3 separate regions of the Homo sapiens genome follow, and all the other regions are linked to region 3. Evidence: promoter capture Hi-C in 16 types of primary human blood cells and fetal thymus (Javierre and others, 2016). All regions are on one chromosome and are shown on one strand. The core of a region is centred on a gene start or on the middle of the fragment in contact, and the rest is flanking DNA. Distances in the headings are between cores, read along the strand shown.

What was found. The method cuts DNA at HindIII sites, captures the fragments that hold promoters and counts their contacts. A CHiCAGO score of 5 or more calls a contact.
Region 1: a fragment that was not itself captured here is called in contact with the fragment with the promoter of PLCB4 in region 3 in 1 of 17 cell types (megakaryocytes); the score reaches 5.7 in megakaryocytes.
Region 2: a contact is called between a fragment that was not itself captured here and the fragment with the promoter of PLCB4 in region 3, in 1 of 17 cell types (megakaryocytes). The highest score is 10.0, in megakaryocytes.

Annotation. Positions count from the first base shown.
Region 1 is chr20:9,144,243-9,148,574 of GRCh38, reverse strand. All of the region lies in intron 2 of PLCB4 (phospholipase C beta 4), which reads right to left. Among named protein-coding and RNA genes, the nearest start is that of PLCB4, 77 kb to the right of the region's middle. The HindIII fragment of the contact is 1,107 bases long and covers 1,601-2,707 here.
Region 2 is chr20:9,168,629-9,173,634 of GRCh38, reverse strand. All of the region lies in intron 2 of PLCB4 (phospholipase C beta 4), which reads right to left. Among named protein-coding and RNA genes, the nearest start is that of PLCB4, 100 kb to the right of the region's middle. The HindIII fragment of the contact is 1,164 bases long and covers 1,233-2,396 here.
Region 3 is chr20:9,067,837-9,072,728 of GRCh38, reverse strand. It overlaps PLCB4 (phospholipase C beta 4), which reads right to left and starts at 3,642. Exons shown (of 40, transcript NM_001377142.1): 1 at 3,523-3,642. The HindIII fragment of the contact is 10,687 bases long and covers 1,739-4,892 here.

The sequences.
Region 1 (4,332 bases), core at 905-3,404, 77 kb before region 3:
CTCTGTTGACTTCCCTGATGCAGGAGAAATTCTTGGGGCGAGGGAAGAGACAGGAGAAAAAAAAATCTGAAAACGAAACTCTATTACCAAGGATCTCCAGCCACAGTATTTCAGTAATCACTCAATGCTTAACTATCCTTACCCTTTGCCCTTTGTGAGACATCTAACAAGGCATGACTACTCTCTATTCTTCCTATTTCAAAAATCATTTATATTTCATTTCCTCCAGGAGGAATGTGATTTGTTCCTATATAAAGATTGCAAATACATTTCAGTCCCTTCCACCCCACAACAAAGCTTCTTTGAGGTAATTAAAACTCAATTGGCTTGAGAATCTGGGTTCAAGGCCCAGATTTGCTTCTAGATAGCTGTTTGGATTGAAGGAGCCCAATTAACCTCTCTGGGACTGTCTCCTTCACGACTGCCAACACGATGCAACTAGAACTAGATGATGTCCACAATCCTTTCAGCCTTCAATGAAATAATTCCATAGAAAAACAATAAAGACCTGTGCAGACCCAGATGAACTCTCTCTTCCTTGACATGGCTCAGACATCTATTTGTGAGGCTGCTTATCAGTATCAAAAGTACAGTCCTGTGGCCATGGCATGGAGAAAAGTCTGACCTCATTCCTTGCTCAATTGACTGTAATCTCATCCTGCAATTTCTAAGTTGGGATCTAGGATAGTCTGACTGCAAAAAGAGCACAATTCTCCCTCCCTGTAACCACAGTCTCGGCTACGTAACTTTGTGGTGCCATTCTCACTCTAGAATTGGCTGTGTGACTTCCTTTGGCCAATGGAAATATTAGCACACATGATGCAAAGAAAGGCTTGAAAAGTGCTTGCACAACTGAGTTTGTTCTCATTCTTGCTCCTCTGCCATAGCCAGGAGTATATGCTAGGTCTAGTATCTTAGGATGAGACACATATTTAGCAGGGATGAGTCACCCTGATCTAGCATAGATGTTAGCTATGCCACCCTAGGTCAGCTAACAGCTAGCTGAGCCCCTAGACATATGAACTAACCCAGCGCTGCCTGCCCAACCCATAGCTGAGCACAGACACATGAATGAGATCAGCTGAAATCAGTCAAGCATTGAGCAGCTGAACCCCCCGAAACTTACAGGCTAAATACATATATGTTATTCTATTCCACTGCAGTTTTGTGGTTGCTTATTATGCAGCATTATTGTGGCAAAAGGAAACGGATACATATTCCTTGGAATACTAGTCCTTAGCCAGACTGTAATGACTACTTTTGGAACAAAGGTTCCTTAGTTGTGAAACAAGTTGATGACATCCTATGCACCTTAACATACATTAATGTCTTTAAGGATCTAGAAGCCCCACAATAAAGAAGTCTATTTAACTTTGTCTAACCCATATTTCCCACAACCTATTTTACCATAGACCTCCAAGTATGATTCCCTAATCGGATTCTCCCCTAGCCTTAGACCCCAATTCTGGGTTGAACCTCTATCCAATCTTTTTGCCAATCAGGCCACGTCTTTTATTTTCTCTCACAAGATGATTAGTGGACTCTTCAAAAGCAAATTAACAAAACACCTTAAGAGGAGGACTTTGATATCACAAAAGCTTACATTGTTTATAAGCAAAGTTTAATAAGAAATAAAAGATAAATGTTCCAAAAATATCTGAAATCCACATATGGTCTAATTTCAGCTCTCTTCTATTTACACTTAAACAAAAGCATAATGCTGACCTCGCCAATTCCTTCCTCAGCATTCTTCAGAGGCTCCCCATTGCCATCCTCTTATTATAATTGCTTTTAAAAACTAACTGAGAAGCCATCAGGCTGAGATGGCTCCGGCACCTTGGGTTCCTAAGTAAGTAAACCAAAACCTAATCAATGTGAGTCAAAATACCATGTAAAGAGTCAGAAACTACCAATTAACCTCTAACTAGGGACTTTCCACTTTAACCAAATACTTTTGTCTTGCTTCCTAGAACACCTTATAAAAATGTTCCCCTTGTGCCCTTTCAGCGGAGCCCTGAACCACTTACTACCTGATGCTGCCCAATTCATGAATTACTATCTACACGAATAAATTCTTTAAAATGTTAATGTGACTATTTTACCTTTTAACACAGTTTACAAGCCTTCACTGACCTGGTCCCTGATTCCTTATCCATTTTATCTCCTTTCTCCCTCACCCCTAGTCTTGTGTGTACATGCTATCCATCCTGATCTACTTTTAATACCATCAAATGGGCCATGAGCTACTGCTCTGAAACTCCAGAGTTTGGTCATATTTGAGGTGAACCTGAATCATGCAGCTTTGAAATAAGGTGATACAAAAGCACTAATATTGTCTCACATTAATTTGGATCTATGTAGGCACCCCCACCGAAACAATTCTTCAAGAATTGTAGTTTTGATGCTGGCTGGGGCAGAGGAAACTCTAAACTCTGTTTACAGAGTGGCCACAGGGCCATGTTAGCTGGTAAATGAAAATATCCACCATCTTTTGACAGAATTATTTTGAATCATGGGAGTTCCAAATTTGCAAGAACTTTAGAAATACAACCCTCACATAAAATATGACCTCTAGAACATGGAGTTTCTTCTGCTGGAAATTCTTCCTCATTGCTTAACCACACTCTAGCCCAAACATGCAGTTCTTCCAGCTAACTTCAATTTGCCCTTTATGTATCAGTTGAGACAGTACTGCTTCCTGGAAGCTTTCCCTAAAACCCCCAAAAACAGGTCACAAGACCTCTCCCCAAGACAGAATTTACCTGATATTAACATTTTCCCACTGTAAATGCCTGGCATTTATTCTAGACTCTTTGATAGGAGAGATCCTTGCTATTCCAATTTAGGTGGCTCACAGATGATCAATGAATATTGCATGGTTGGGTGCGTGAATGGAAAGATAAATGGATAGATGGAAGATGAAATGAACGAATGGGAAGCCACACTAAATATATGACTGATTTTTGCTGAACATTCTCTCCCTATCCTCTCCCCTGCCCAACCTCAAGAAAAGATAATTACAAACACTAGGCAACAGCAGGGGAAAGAAGACCAAAAAAAAAAAAGAACTTTGATAATTGTATCAGCAGGATAAGAGTGATCATTATGAATTTTGAATTAATGTAGACACATTTTTTTGATGTGAGAGCACTTGTCAAAAATATAAAACACACCCAGAATAAAAGTAGGATGCAGTAGTGGCTTTTCCTAATAAAAATAAAATTTGCTGAAGATGCATCTTTTATTTTTTAGAGAAAAACATTTTAACTCATTTGTTGAGAGTGAAGGATTCACTCCAAGAATTGTGCTATGTAATGAATGTGGCCTCTTTGACACAGGAAACAAAGGTGCAGTGAAGGACTTTCTTAAGAGCTCAGTGGTTCAGATTTCCTGCTTCTCATCACAAAAACATACTGGAGAAATATTTTTGTTTTCACTCACTTTCACCTTGGATACATTTCACTATCTCAGTTACCCCAGTTGTCCTCTTTAATGAGGACAGAAATGAGTGCAAACACAGCTAAGATGGTTTAAAACCAAAAAAGCCTTCATCTCTGATGTTTCTTCTCACATGGCTTTGGATCCCAGACTGAAAACACAATATACCTCCGGCACTTTTAGGCAGAGCTAGGAAAATAGCTCTGCCACTGATTTTAAACATCCTCCTAACTGACACCATGGAGAAGTCTTAGGCAATGTTACATGAATGATCTTTTGGCTGCGTATGTGTATGGCCTTGTTCTCTGGGACTTAATTTTATTTGAACTTCCTTCTCCTTCTCCTCCTACCCCTCCTCCCCCTCATTCCCCTCCTTCCCCTCCTTCCCCTCCTTCCCCTCCTTCCCCTCCTTCCCCTTCTTCCCCTTCTTCCCCTCCTTCCCCTCCTCCCCCTCCTTCCCCCTCCTCCTCCTCCTTCTTTCTTCTTCTTCTTTTCTTTTTTTCTTTTGTAGAGATTAGGTCTCATTTTGTTGCTCAAGCTGGTCTTGAACTCCTGGGCTTAAGCAATCCTCCAGCCTTGGACTCCTGAGCCACCACACCAGCCTTTAACTTTCTTTAAACCCCTTAGATACTATATCTGCAAAGGGCTGTATAGTATTTTCACTAGCTAGAAAAATCCAAAACAATTTTCTATGGATTGTTTTAACCTTAAAGTTAAGCAAAGGTGTAATCTGCTGCTTATGTTTTTCAGGTTCCTTTGTGTCATATTTCCCTATTGTTTGAACTCTTTTAAAAAGTCCCACATAAAAGTACAAGCAAGAACCTAGCCATTAGTTGTATCTATCAACAAACACATCAATGGTCATACCAGGAAACACAGTAGTTGGTTCTCCCA
Region 2 (5,006 bases), core at 565-3,064, 100 kb before region 3:
CCATAGTCACGGGATGTGCACAACTTCAAGAAGCTGGACAAGGCAAGGAATACATTATCTCCCCCAGAACCTCCAGAAAAAACACGGTCCTGCAGGCCTATTTGACTACCAACATCAAGAAGTGTAAGATAATAAATCTGTGCTTTAAGCCACTAAGTTTACGGCAGTTTGTTACAGCAGCAACAACAGGAAACTAATTCAGATGTCTTGGGATGCTGGGTGGAACTGGAGAGCGTGTGTCTCCTCTAAAGGAAGAACACAAGTCTGCATGTGGCCAGATCTTCTAATTTATCAGGAGATGAGGTAAATCTGTTTGCATAAAGTTGGCAACTAGTAACACTGTGCAGGACCAAAAGTATGGTCAAAACATTGACTACTGCTCTTTATTTTCTTATTGAGTAGGTCCAATCATGCGATGCATCTAACTAAGGACACAGGATGGATAAAACAATGCAATGCCTTTTACTGGCTCAACGCTACACCCCAGACCACAGACCACACCAAAGCTTTGCAAGGCCAACCAAGAGTTCAGCAGTTGACAGAGCTCCTATATTTACAGCCAGGAGGCACTGCAAGCAAAGCATAGTTCATCATCTGTTCCCAAGTCTTTGGAAACTGAACTTCAGAGTGAGATTTTTCTTATATTCTAGATCATGGATGGGGTCAACCTGCACTATGGAGTCATTCTACAAAATGAAATTATTTCAGAAAAACAATTTGCTCTTTGCAGATAACAGGAATTATTAAAGTGCCAAACATTATTACTGAAACATGGCCAGACATATGGAAGTAACTTTTAAAAACAAAGACAAAAACAAAACAGAAAACCCCAGATTATTTTGCCTTAATATAATCCTCCTGTTAATTCTGTTCTTAGGGCGAGTTGACAGGGGAAGGGGAAAATGAGGTTTATCATGTTTGCAGAGACAGTGGCCTCTCTTAACATTCAGGCACTCGGCCAACAATATTTATTAAATGACAGTTTTCCAAAACACTAAACAAGAAAAGGAAATGCGAATGGAAATGCAAAATAAGTGTTAAGATGGTGTTTCTGCAAAGAGGACTTACATTGGAAGACATGGGAAGACTAATACATAAAATATAATTAGAGAGTAATTAACAGTCTTTATCTACACAGGAGAGTAACACCAAAAGGTTTATAAGCCAATGCAATATGCACTCAGGAAAGGGAGAGATGGACAGGGATTTGACTTATAGCAGTGAGGAAAGCTTCAGCAAGGTGAGGTTTTATGCTTAACTTTCAAGGATAGGTAGGATGTATGTAGAAAATGAGTAAGATATTCCACTCAACAGGGAATTGGCTTGGTGACTTCTCTCTTATTATGGAATCTTAAGTTTTTAGTTGAAGCTGAAAACATACTAAAACTGGCATTAAATGGTGGTCCTTTGTTATATGATGAATTCTTATATTCTAGATCATGGATGGGGTCAACCTGCTCTATGGAGTCATTCTACAAAATGAAATTATTTCAGAAAAACAATTTGCTCTTTGCAGATGAAAGGAATTATTAAAGTGCCAAACATTATTACTGAAACATGGCCAGACACATGGAAGTAACTTTTAAAAACAAAGACAAAAACAAAACAGAAAACCCCAAATTATTTTGCCTTAATATAATCCTCCTGTTAATTCTGTTCTTGACAAGTTGACAGGGGAAGGGGAAAATGAGGTTTATCATGTTTGCAGAGACAGTGGCCTCTGCAAGCACTCTGCCAAATATGGAAGATCGATTGATATTTCTTTCCATTCCATTGAGGCTTAAAATTATGAGGAGGGGGGAAATAGTCATTATTTCCCACAATTCTCCACTTACATAATACACAACTGCACAAATAAATGCAGATAATATGCTTCTGCCGCCTCCAATTACATCATCAGATGAAATATTCAAAGTAGAAGTCTCAGATACTGTTGCAACCCAGTAGAATGATGCTTAAATTTATAACCTGAATTTATTTTTCTTAAAACATGGCTCTCTGAGTTATTTTTTTGCCAAAACTGACTGTAGCAAGTGTTTGCAATACTTGTTCTGTCCTTTCCTCTCAGAGAAAAGCAACTATAAATTAAGTAACTTGGAAAACAAGATTAGAATAAATATGCACATACAGATTCTTGTTGTTCTGGTCTATAGTTTGACAACTATACATTAGCCCTAACAAAATATGGTCTCTGGTTTTAATTTTTGAATAGACAGCTGCTGAATATTTGTGCAGTTTGGTTCTAAGGATTGCATACTGTACTTTTTGAAACTACTGGAATATTCTCTTGCATTCTTTTGTGAGCAAGGAAACGTAAACTGTCTACTAAATGATGTACCTTTGAAAATCACTACATATTTCTTTGTAGCATTCTAAAGGGGACTGTAAAAGAAGCTTCTGAGCGCCTACCATATGATAGGTAACTCCAAGTTATACAATGTGGATTTCTTACAGAAAATACCTGAATAAACCCATCGTTTATAAATCATATTCACACACACACAAAAAAACTATGTCAAGGTGTGAATAAGAGCTTAAGGAGCTGTGTGAGTTTTCAGAGATGAGTCTCATATTCCACTGAAGTAGTGATTTGTGAAAAGGAGCAAACCAAAAATGGGAGTTTCATGGTACCGTCAAAGAACTCAATGTGAGCACTTTACAGCCCCTAAACAACTTTATGGTGCTGGTATAACTCATTCATTTTGACCATATCCCTACCGCTATGTTAGATATTCAAAAACTGCTTCTTCATGACCAAAGAGATTGTGGTACATTTTAACTTTCTGCCTCCAGGCCATTTTGAGAGTCTGGCAATTCAGACAATTAGCTTTCTGGATAGCTGAGGTTTTACCGACTCTGTGAACCCACATCAGGGCAGATCCAAATCAACCCCAGACCTTGTTAGGTACCTGAAGGTAAAGCTGACTGAAACTACTGCCCACAAACATGGAATGTCATGAATTATCATTATTACAAGGATAGAGCTTTCTGTTTCTGAAGAAGCAGTGTGAACCAACTTATATTTCAGGCTAAATGATGAGGTTACTGTATCCTCAAACACAATCTTCGTAGGAAACAGCTGCCTGAAAGAGGAGTTTTTTTTCTTTATATCCAGAGAAACCAGGTGTGTCAGCCCAAAGAACCTCTCAGAACATGGTTTACCTCCATGTCTTTGCATCTCTATTTATGTTATCTCACCAGCCATCTCATAAAACATGATAAGAATCAATAAAGTCATTGGAAAACATCTGTACCAAGTAAAAAACAGATAATCTAAGCTACTCTTGTTAAAACTTTAGTTCTGTCAGAAATAAATTAGTCCTAACAAACTAAATATTAATTTGTAAGAAAGTGTTGTACAACATGCATTCCTAAGTATGAAAGTAACTTGCATGAAATAAAACTGATCAAAGCACAATTTTGAAGAAATAAACTAACCACAGATCACTTGCAATCAGTAAATCCTTCTTTGGAGAGACTCAAAAAAGAACGTAAAGGTTGGGGAAGGAATGCAGGAACTTTCTCCGGTGGTGGTAATGTTCTATATCTTGCCAGGACTGATTTATCTGGGTGCGTCCACTTGTTGAAAGTTCAAGCTATGTACAAGTAAGGATGTGTGCATTTCATCGAATAGAAATTTCGTATGAATAACTGATAAGAAATATTGAACTCCAGTTAATAATAAGCATGCTGGAATATACAAACTATGCCTGCAGTTTATTTTTAAATCCATCAAAAATAAGACAGTGAAAGACAGAGGGATAAGTGGATGGACAGATAATAAAGGCAATAAAGTGTTCATGGTAGAATCTAGGAGGTGAATACACAGCTGTTCATTGTAAAATTCTTTCAAATTACTATATGTTTGAAATTTTCACAAACAATGTTGTGGAGGAAAGTACAATGGGAAGGAATCACTGAAGAATTTGGAGTATCACACCAACACCCCACTGCCCACTTCCTTCCCTTCAGGAGTTCAATTCACATGGTATCTAGAACCCTGGCAGAGTATTTATTTATTTATTTATTTATTTATTTATTTATTTATTAGACAGTCTTGCTCCGTCACCCAGGCTGGAGCGCAGTGGCACGGTCTCAGCTTACTGCAACCTCTGCCTCCCGTTTCAAGCGATTCTCCTGCCTCAGCCTCCAGAGTAGTTGGGATTACAGGTGTGCACCACCACGCCGGGCTAATTTTTTTTTTTTTTTTTAAGAGATGGGGTTTCACCATGTTGGCCTGGCTGGTCTCAAACTCCTGACCTCAAGTAATCTTCCTGCTTCGGCCTCCCAGAGTGCTGGAATTACAGACTGGCAAAGTGTTTACATTGAGAACTCAAGACACATATCTCACAAGCTGAGACATGGAAAGTTTTTATGAAAATCAAATGCCCAAAACTGGATTATTACATTGGAAAATTGTGTGTTAAGTGAGAGGAAGGAAGCAGCTCCTCACAAATAAAGTTTCTATATTTAAATTCACAGGGAGCTAAAGTGGAGCACCTGCAAGCCAGATTGGGCAGAGGATGCCACAGAAGACTCAGGTTCAAGATGCAAATCAAACTCAATGCATTTAAAAGGCTCCTGATTGGCAGGACATGAGGGCAGACAGGAGAAGAGGATGAGCCCTTGGTGGTTGTAGCAACCGCAAAGGGAGACTTGAGCTTGAAAGGTGGGTGTTGAGCTTGAACGCTTTCTTAATTGGTGGCTGCTTGGGCTGACAGGCAGGAGTTGGGGCTGCCAAGGATGACGAGTCCTGGAAAAGACTGCTGTGGAAGTTCAGCAGAGGTGACAATCCCACACATTTCTACCAGAGAAAACAAGCCACACATCATCAGTTATATCAGCCACAAAGCGGCCAGTGTCACCAGCTAGTCGATTCCCCTCAATCACATCTCAGTCATGAGCTTCGCAAACTGACTGCCCACTATGGACAGACAATGTCCATTAAGTGAAAAACAATGACCTGAGCAGTTATTTGGTATCTGGTGGTGTAGCTCCTCGCTAGT
Region 3 (4,892 bases), core at 2,393-4,892:
TTCAGCATAAAAAAGCATCCAAAGTCGTGAGCTTCCACCCAGACTCTTTCTACCCTTCCACCCAGAAAATGGGGTTTGGGAGTGGTTGCTGCAAAGGAGTGAAGTGGGCCTTGCAAATAAAAGTTATTCCAGGGTGATATTTTCAAAGCAAGCTTAATTCCAACCAAGACAATGTAAACATCACACTCATCCACTCAGTAATGCATAATCACCCAGGTCTGCCTCCACTGGCAAGGAAGTAAACTCATTTTTATACTTGGTTAGCTAAAGAATCACAGCCTAGGAACATGTAAAACCTTTATATCATTCTAAGGCATAACTAGATAAATAATATTACAATTTGAGAAAGTATTTCTACTTTAAAGGGTGAGGCTTTATCAAAAGCAAAACTATTAAACAAACAAATACTAAGGAATAGAAGAAAGAGCTACACAAGTTTATTCATTTTCCCAATATGAGAGGGAAATAGGAAAATGTGGAATGGACAGCACTGAGAATTAAGCAGTGTCCTTGCAAACACAGTTCACATCTGAAAACCAACAGCAAAACCACAGAAAGTCACTGCTGCCTCCCACCAGCGATGAAAAGCTGTATTTATTTCCCAACAGGCAGATAAGTCTCCTTGACAGACACTAATATGGCCTACACATTCATATATTATGAGGTGAAAAGCAACTATTTTAAAAACTTCAATCTGGACATAAAATACCAACTGTGATCATTAAAGCATCTCCATTAGTCCTTGACCTAATTTTGCATATCAAATACAGAAGTTCTTGGTTTTACAGGGACTCAACTGTGGTAGATAGACAGTTTATTAAAAGACCTGGGTCGGCGGTGCTAATCAACATGCTGTTTCACCCTTACTTTATAAGTGATCACAAACAAAAATTTAGTCACAGCCTGCTAAATAATTTTAAGTTTCAAAGAAAATTTATACTTCCTCAAAAATAGTTTACTATTAAGTGTGGAGAGCATGAGAAATCCAAAATCTTTCTTACATTACCTAAGTGCTCTAATCCGAAAAGATAAAATTTACTCTCAAGATTTCAAAATAAAAAATCAAACTCAGCTAATTACTAATTTTTTTTAATAATCTGCAAAATTTTTTCATTAATTCTGTTATTTGAGTTTTCCAGCTACATCTGAAAAACTGGGGATGAAAATTCAGACACTAAACTCAGAAGCTAATTTCACTTATATTGTTACATCCTTTCACAAATTAGCATGCTAATGTGATCACAAGGAAAACAGCACAGCAGCCCTGAAGCTCACTTTTACCTCAATTTTACTTAGAGGGTGAGGTAAAGATGAATACCAGGCAAACATTTCAATTCTTAATAAATCAAACCCCAAAATGAAGTTAGTGGTATCTTAGGAAAATACCATGTTTACTGAAATTGCCAAATATAACTGTCCCATGTTGCCAAAGTCAGCAGTATACATTAATCTAAAGACAGTTGTGTGTAATCTTGGGAAAGGCAAACTAGCTGTGCTACGGGCACTGAATGGACTCTGCTGTGGTTGAAATATTTCAGAGGTGATACAAATTTTTAAAATCTTTTCCTGCAAAAGGTTTTTGGTAACCTGTAACACTTTTTCAACTACCATATTTCTTTATCTCATAAGGCAAAAACACACCGCCTCACGATTCCAGGACATGTAAGCAGTTTAACATCACTCACATTTTCAGGCATATAAATATAAAACTTCCAATAGAGTATTTTAGAACAAAGCTTTCTGCGTGGGTATGCATTTGCAAAATAAAGGTAGAGTTATTCCGACAGATTTAAATGTGCACCCAGTGATCAAATGGAGTTAGAAATTCTGTTTTGACAGTTACTTGTAGAACAGCATTTTCAACAGCGATTAATTCAGAGCTGGGTAGTAATACCATCAAAACTAAGTTCCAACTGTTGAGTAATAATATAGTTGGAAGGAAGTGTAGTCCATAAGCTAATACATGGTACCTTTAGATATGTTATAATACGTCACATTCAAAAGGTTACTCGTCTGGCAGCAAGTCTTACGTTCATAAAAGTGCCAATAAAAATGTTTTGCCATTTCAAAAAGTGATTTTTTATGAAAACAGGTGCTCTCCAAAGATGGCAATCATTTATTAAACTACTACAGTTCAAAAGGAAGATGATATAATAGATCAATACACCAGCTAAGGATCATGCAAGACTGTCCTATGAAAAACAGCATTCTGGATTACATAACACAGATAGTGAGGGATTACACCACATGCCCCTGCTGAGCTAGACTTTTGATCTTCTGTATGATTCTATAACTGAGGCCACTCAAATTTGAAGAGTATAAAATATGAGGGTCTCAGTTCAACCACACATTTCTGAAAACAGCCGTCTTGAAAACAATAAAAGAATAAAGTTAAAATTTTACCTTCCCCCGCAACACACACACAATTTTTCTATTCTGAAAAACACAGTTGTTCAGATACTTTCTTAACCTCCTTGGAGCCTCCCCAGGTAAAGTCACCAGTTGCTTTTCCTGGTCATGTTTACATTATAAATCTGATTTCTCTTTAAGGGGAAATTCAATATCATTTTAAAATGATACATAGCTGCCTATGTTTGAATAACGTTATTTCCAGACAAAAAGAATTATTAAACAGCTATCTCCACATACCTATAACTTAAATATATAGACCACTAAGTATTACGTATATGGAAAAAAAAACACCTTTCCTGAATATTCTGGCCAAAATTAAATTTCAAATACATGTTTTAGAACAATAGCTAGAATCACTACAGAAGTTAAGAGGAAAAAAAGTTGGAAGAGTAGGGTCATCTTTCAGATATATCCATATTTATGGAAACTATAGTGGGCAGTTGTATTTCTCTCTAGGAAAATGCTAGTTTTATGATTCTAGATAAAGTTGCACTTAAACACACTTGGAAATTAGAGAATTCCATATTTCCATACTTCGATTCAGTACCATATACGAAGTCTACACTCAGAAGTATTGTACTATACAGAGTCTAATTGGTTAAAGCAAAAGCAACTTTAAAATTCTGAAAATAAGGATTTCCTTCACTAACAGGCTTTTAGGAGGCCCGAACCCTGCCCCCAATGAGTGCTAAGCCTGTCAGTGTTGTTTTAAGTGGAAACGGTCAATCATTTCTATGATTTCCCCAGAAGAGGCAAGAAGATCCACACGCATACACATTTACATGCGTTGCACGGTGCCAACTATTTCCAACCAAAATAATCATATACACGTCGAGCCGAGCTATTTCTAGCCCAGAAGAGGGTGAACGTCTGGAGAGAGTCTGAGGAAACCCAGCAGGCGATGACTGCAGGGGAAGGGGGATGGCGTCTGGGTCCCCTGCCTCCCGCGCGCACAGGGCGCCTGGCACCCGGCACCTGCACGGGGTCCCCGCTGGGCATCCGGGTGCGCGCGCGCGCGCGTCCGGGACGCACCCGCGGAAAGCAAACAAGCCCTGAGGGCCAAGGCGGGCGGGAGCATCCTCGGGCGGGACCCGAAATGCCTTTTCCTACCTGTCACTTTGCCTGGAGCTGCTGCCGGGGATGCGGCGACGGCCGCTGCCTGGAGACCCAGTGTGTACGCGCGTGTGTGTGCGCGCCCGTGTGTGCGTGTGCGTGTGTGTGTCTGTGTGTGAGAGATCTTGTTGGCGGTGCAGCTCACTTACTGCTCCCGGCGCGGCGCCACCACCCCCTCCTCGCCATAAAGAGCCGCCGCCAAGCCCCCTCCCGGCGCACCCCAGTCCCGCCCTCCCGCCTGCCTCCGCACCCCCTCCCTGGCCTCCCCGCCTCCCCGTCTCCGCGCCGCGCGGTCCTTACCTCAGTTGAGGGCGGGGGTCTCCGCCGTGGCTCCCCAGCGAGCCCACGGGGCAGCGCCGACCCGCCCGCCCACCGCCGGGCCCTGCGCGTCCCCCGCTCCGGGCCCCGCCGCCCCTCAGCGGCCAGCCGCTTCCTCCTCCCCTGCCCCCGAGCCTCCCTCCTCGTTCTCGCCTCCCGGCTCCAGAGCCCGAGCTGTCGCCTCGCAGCCCCAACCTGCCCAGGCTACGGAGCATGCCCAGTGCGGCGCGCCGGGCTGGGCTGGGGGTGGGCAGGGGCCGGGCCGGCCGCCCAGTTGCCGCGAGCCCGCAGGGCGAGGAGTGGGCGCCGACTGGGTCGGGGGCGCAGCCTCGCGAGCCGGGGGCCGAGCAGCCGAGGCAGGTGGTGGGCAGCGCCAAGAGGAGGTGGGTGGGGCATCCGGGGAAGCCGGCCCGCGGCGCGCTCCTCTGGGGTCTCCCTGGCGGCTCCCCGCGGCATGTGCCCCATGCCCAAGGGTCGGGGGCGCACGGGATGGCGCTGGGCGCAGAACCCAGGGAGCGGGGGCAGAAAAGCGGCACCCTCCTCGGATGGGAGACCCGCAGCCCGCCGTGGGCCGTGTGGAGGGGCTCAGGACTGGCCAGAACGGGGCCCCCAAAGCCGTTGGCTGGGTGGGGGACGTGCTTATTTGTTTATATTCGGTTTCATAAACCCATACAGCGCCTACAATGCGTCCTGCAGTGTTCTAAACGCTTTTTATTCATTTAATCCCTAAAACAATCTTCCAAAGAGTACTACTGCCTCTTTTTATTTCGCGGGTCTTACACAGAGCCACAGAGATTAAGTGGTTCCAAAAAGTCTTCCCACAAGTGCAACCTCAGACATGCAAATCCCCCAGACTTTGGTCCCTGGGATGCTGGGGTGCTGCTCCAGCCAGTTCCTGGCTTTTCCCGGCCCTACAACGGCCCCCAGGTGCCTCCGAGTCACACTCACACCCAGGCCCTAATGGTGTTCGGTCTGGCATCACCCTTGTGTGGACCCTCACAACGTGCTGCTCCCGAACTCCGGAGGGCTCCCTCCTCCCCACTCCGCCT